Linked DNA regions of Homo sapiens: region 1 is linked to region 2. The links are contacts of gene promoters, found by promoter capture Hi-C in blood cells and fetal thymus (Javierre and others, 2016). All regions are on one chromosome and are shown on one strand. The core of a region is centred on a gene start or on the middle of the fragment in contact, and the rest is flanking DNA. Distances in the headings are between cores, read along the strand shown.

What was found. Contacts are between HindIII fragments. The CHiCAGO score rates a contact against its expected background, and 5 or more counts as called.
Region 1: a contact is called between a fragment that was not itself captured here and the fragment with the promoter of EVPLL in region 2, in 10 of 17 cell types (erythroblasts, total CD4 T cells, M1 macrophages and 7 more). The highest score is 21.3, in erythroblasts.

Annotation. Positions count from the first base shown.
Region 1 is chr17:20,561,191-20,564,035 of GRCh38, reverse strand. No RefSeq gene overlaps it. Among named protein-coding and RNA genes, the nearest start is that of CDRT15L2, 17 kb to the left of the region's middle. The HindIII fragment of the contact is 4,651 bases long and covers 1-2,845 here.
Region 2 is chr17:18,376,385-18,379,256 of GRCh38, reverse strand. It overlaps EVPLL (envoplakin like), which reads right to left and starts at 1,479. Exons shown (of 11, transcript NM_001145127.2): 1 at 1,274-1,479. The HindIII fragment of the contact is 15,578 bases long and covers 1-2,872 here.

The DNA of each region.
Region 1 (2,845 bases), core at 31-2,530, 2.2 Mb before region 2:
TGATCCGCCTGCCTCGGCCTCCCAAAGTGCTGGGATTACAGATGTGAGCCACCGTGCCCGGCCGCTAAACTCTTAATTTTCAATTACTCCAATTGCTTGAAACTCAAATAGCCATATGGGGCTAGTGGCCACCATTTGGACAGAGTGACTCCAACATTCCATGTGGTGTAATTTTATTTGCTAGCCTTTAGCATCATGTAATGTGATCTTCTTCACTTGTTTTCTGTCTCTGTGACCAGAGCATCAGCTCCTTGAGGTGGGGATTGGTTTGTCTTGTCCACTGCTGTATGCTGGGGCTAGAAGTGGGCCTGGCATATAGTAGAGGCTCCATATGTAATTGCCGAATGAATGCATGAGTAAATGAATGACTCCTGGGGACCATGAACTCTGAATTTCTCCAAAAGGAATGCTAGTTCTGCCAGGGATTGCTGCTCTGTGACCTCAAGTCAGGATCTTGCCCTCTCTGGGCTCAGCATCCTGACCAAGGGGCACTGGGGCCCCTCTGGTCCTGAGGCTCTGAGACTTACTGCTGCTTCCTCTGTCCTTTTGGGAGAAAAGCTGAGTGTTGGGAGAGAAGCTGAGGCAGGGCTTGCATGTCTGCTAGACTTGCTAGCTCTTGCTTCTAGCACTCCCATTATCTCAAGTAGCCACATGTTTCAAAGAAAATGCTACACCATCGCAGCTGTAGCTCACTCACTTGATACATTGCTTCCTTTAAACCCCCACATCCTCACCATGTGTTTCTTTGTTTGAGCACCAGTAAATAGCCTGGGCTCCCAGAGCTCAGGGCCTTTGCAGCCTCCATACTAGTGTTGGCCCCCTGGTCCCACTTTATTTCCTGTCTTTTCTCATTCCTATGACTCCGCTGGACTTCGAAGCCCCCATGGCCTGATGTTGGGTCTGATCACCCCAACCTGCCCAAGCTGCCCTTATCTATCCTTCTTACCCGAGGCCCACCTCCTGCCTCCCAGCCATGTCATAGGAAGGGGGCCAGATGGGCTTCCTGTCCCCAGAGCCTGTGTCTAGGAAGTCATCACAGCAGGCTGCCTGTGCCCATCTCCTAGCAATAAATGGCCTTAGGAAGTATTTGGGGGTGGGATAAAGTGGTGATCACTGTGGGGCTGTGTCCCAAATCAACACCTCTCCAGCTGGCCAAGGGCAAGTGTTTCCCAGGAGCCAGGCCAGGGCAGGCTGGCGGTTGTGGCATGTGCACCAGGAGTCAGCTCCAGGGTCCTCCAAGCCTGGGCCCTGCAGTCGGCCACCCTCACCCTCTCATGCCTGTGCTTGGGGTTAAGAGGTGGCAAGGGGTGCTTGGGCCCTACATGCTTCTTGTGGGGGCCTGTAGGAACCAGGCATGAGGAAGTGAAGAGCAGGTGCTGACTGTGAGTGACTCTAACCCTGACTGCCCCAGCATCCAACACTCGCACACATGCACATGTGCCTACTCACCTGGACACAACACAGCTATGCATGCTGACACGAACTTGCTCGGAGGCATGGGCACAGACACACACTTACTTGTTTTTGTTTTTATTATTTTGAGATGGAGTCTTGCTCTGTCACCAGGCTGGAGTGCAGTGGCATGATCTCAGCTCACTGCCACCTTTGCCTCCCGGGTTCAAGCGATTCTCCTGCCTGAGTCTCCTGAGTAGCTGGGACTACACACAGGAACCACCACACCCAGCTAATTTTTGTATTTTTAGTAGAGACAGAGTTTCATCACATTGGCCAGGATGGTCTCCATCTCTTGACCTCGTGATCCACCCACCTTGGTCTCCCAAAGTGTTGGGATTACAGGAATGAGCCACCGTGCTGAGCCATTTTGTGTGTTATTTTTATAATTTTTATGTTTAGAGAGGGATCTTGCTCTCTTCCCCATGTTGGATTGCAGTGGTGGTATCCTAGTGCACCGCAGCCTCAACCTCCTGAACCCAAGCGAGACTCCCTCCACAGCCCTGCCAGTAGCCAAGAATACAGGCCTACACCACCATGCCTGGCATTTAAACAATTTTTTTGTACAGATGAGGTCTTGCTATGTTGCCCAGGCTGATCTCAAACTCCTGGGCTCAAGTGATCCTCCTACCTCAGCCTCCCAAAGTCCTGGCATTAAAGGGATAAGCCATTATGCTCGGCCCTGTCTATTCATTAGATTTGAATTGCAAATCTTCAAAGTCCATCCATATTTGCAGGAAGTATAAGTATTCCATTCATTTTAATAACTGAATAGTATCCCCCTGTGCACATATAATACATGTTGCTCATTTATTCTTCTGTTGATGAACAATTGGGCTGTTTCTACCTTTTGGCTATTGTGAATATGCTGCTCTGAATGTTGGGACACAAGTATCTGTTTTTTTAAAAATTGTGTTTTATTTTTTGATAAGTTATTGGGGTACAGGTGGTATTTGGCTACATGAATAAGTTCTTTAGTGGTGATTTCTGAGATTTTGGTGCACTCATCACCAGAACAGTATACACTGCACCATATTTGTTGTCTTTTATCCCTCGCCCCCACCTTCCAATCTTCCCCCCAAGTCCCCAATGTCCATTGTATCATTCTTATGCCTTTGCATCCTCATAGTTTTGCTCCCACATATCAGTGAGAACATATGATGTTTGGTTTTCCGTTCCTGAGTTCAAGTACCTGTTTGCAACCCTGCTGTCAGGGGTTTTGGACATCTACTTAGGAGTGGAATTGCTGGGTCATATGGTAGTTTTATGTTTGACTTTTTGAGGAACTGCCAAACTTTTCCACATTATACATTATACATTCCCATGAGCCACTGCATTATACATTCCCATGAGCAATGTGTGAGGGTTCCACTTCCTTCACATCTCCAACACT
Region 2 (2,872 bases), core at 230-2,729:
GCTGCTGCCTCCTCTGCAGATGAGCTGAAGCCAGTGAGTGGGAAGAGCGCCACCCAATCCATCCACAGAGAGCTGAGGCTGGGCCCCAGAGAACCGGGTGGTCCAAGGGAGGCCCAGTGCCCCCTGCACCACACCCACTGGAAAAGGAAGCCCCAGCTCTATTCTGTTTTGTTTTAACAGACAGGGTCTTGCTCTGTCACCCAGGCTAGAGTGCAGTTGAGTGATCACGGCTCACTGCAGCCTCGACTTCCCGGGCTCAAGTGATCCTCTCACCTCAGCCTCCCAAGTAGCTCTGACTACAGGCATGCACCACTACATCCAGATAATTTTTGTATATTTTTTATAGAGATGGGATTTCGTCATGTTGCCCAGGCTGGTCTCCAACTCCTGGGCTCAAGTCATCCACCCGCCTCAGCCTCCCAAAGTGGTAGGATTGCAGGCATGAGGTATTGCACCAGGATTTTTTTTTTTTTTAAAGACAGAGTCACAGTCTGTCACCCAGGCAGGAGCGCAGTGGTGTGATCATGGCTCACTGAAGCCTCAAACTCCTGGGCTCAAGCAATAGGCATGAGCCACCATACCTGGCTGTTTTTTATTTTTATTTTTTTTATAGAAACAAGATCTCCCTATGTTGCCCAGGCTGGTCTCAAACTCCTGGGCTCAAGGAATCCTCCCGCATTGGCCTCCTAAAGTCAGGGATTATAGGCGTGAGCTACCGCGCCCAGCCATGAACCCCTAACTCTTCAATACAACAAGGCCCTGGGTGAGAGCTCTGGGGAGGGCTCTGGCTTAGGCAGGAGGCAGCACAGCCCCTGCATCCCTACCCCAGGGATCCCACCCCACCCCCTCAGTCCTCATGCCCTGCACCCAGGCTCCAGGGGTCATCCCAGCCAAGTAGAGCCTTGGGGCAGAGCTGCAGTCACACAACCAGGCTCTCCTGTGTCCCAGCCTCTGGCAGAGGAGGGCATCAGTGCAGGCTCCTGTCCGGCACTTCTCCCGCTGAGCAGCATCAATCTGTGGCCCACAGGCCCCCTTAGAGGATGTAGGGAGCCCCAGGCCATCCCCTGCCTCCTGCCAGGGCTGAAGTTCGGCCTGGGCCTGCGGCTCCCAAGGCAGGGAGAGAGTCCACCCCTGGGCCCTTTGTCCTCGGGACACCAAATGCCAGCACGGGGCTGGTCCTGGGCTCTGGGCCGCCGCCAGGTGGCTCAAGGACCTGGGCCTGGCACCACCCCCACCCTAGCTCCCTGGCTCCCCATCCCCTAGTCCCACTCACCAGCTGTGCTTGCTGGGGGAGCCTTTGGGGGACCCCTTGGCTGGGGAGTCCTTGGGGGACCCCTTCCCCTGGGAGCCTTTGCTCAGTCCCTTGAACATGGTCATAAAGGCAGGTGCTGGCTCAGGCTGGGCTTGGCTGGTGAAGGAGGGCAGGAGGGCAGGTGGGAGGCAGCGGGCGTCCTTGCTGGCTGGTCAGCTAAGTCTGGCAAGGTGGGGCGGCTGGGCATTGGGGAAGGGAGTTTCTGGGAGGCCCCTCCTTGCAGGTGAGGCAGCAGGCGGCCAGGCCCCAGGCCTGCCGCGCATGCACCCACAAAAACCACACTCATGCCTGCTCTTGCATAACCAGTCTGGGAGGAAAGGGCACAGCCTTGAGGGTGGGGCCGAGCCTGCCCGACTCCCACAGAAGGTTTGGACTTGTTACACCCACATGCCCAGGGGAGCGCGGTGGCGATTACACCCAGATAGGGAAGGAGCTGGGCCAGGACAGATGGGTCTGGAGACAGACGTGCACATGCAGGCGCAGGCTCAGCGGAGAGGCCCCAGCTCTGGAGCTCAGGATTAATAAACATCTCCAGCCAGCTCAGAGGCCCTGCTGCCAGGCTGGCCCCCACCCACAGCTCTCAATCCCCCAGGAGAGGAGGGGGTGTCCTGCCAGCCCAGGGCCTGGCTCTGTGTTCTCCACTGACATGATGGGGCAGCCAGGGGACGTTCACTCCAGACAACTGGCACAAGGTCCATTTTTTTTTTTTTTAAGAGACAAAGTCTTGCTCTGTCACCCAGGCTGGAGTGCAAAGGCACGATCTCGGCTCACTGCAACCTCTGCCTGCCGGGTTCAAGCGATTCTCCTGCCTCAGCCTCCCAAGTAGCTGGGATTACAGGTGTCCGTCACCACGCCCAGAAAATTTTTGTATTTTTAGCAGAGAAGGGGATTCACCATGTTGGCCAGGCTGGTCTGGAACTCCTGACCTCAAGTGATCCACCCGCCTTGGCCTCCCAAAGTGCTGGGATTACAGGCATGAGCCACCATGCCCGGCCCCATTTTATAAAGTGTGCACAGTGCAGCAGCACCAGGGCTGGCTTCAGGTGCCACTAAGCCTGGGCTCTGGCTGAGGCCCGGGAGCCCGATGCACTTGGCTTTTCCTACCTGCCTCTTCCCCCACCCAGAAATGGCCCCTGGTGGCTTTTATGAAGTCAGATTGAGTGGCAGAGAGTGATGCCAGCTTATTGGTCTTTTCCTCACACTGGGGACCAGGGCTGCTGCCTTTTCCTTCTGTGGTGACCCTCAGCGTCTTCAAGAAAGGGGCGATGGGACCCCCCTTTCCAGGCGCTCATTTTACTGGCCCAGCGTAACAGGCCCCTTCTGCAGAGGTGGCGTCGCTTTCCAGGTCATTCCTGAAATCCCCGTGGTTTTAGTGGAAGGAGGGCTTGAGGGGGAGCCAGGGGATGGAACAGGCGGACTGGGTGACATCACCTGGTCATCCTGGCAGGCCTCGCTGAGGACAAAACAGCCTGGCAGGAGAGAAAGGTCCCAGCAGATGGGGGAGACCAGGGACCGACACCTGATACTGGCCTCAGGCCCCCATGGGATAGAAAAGGCCTG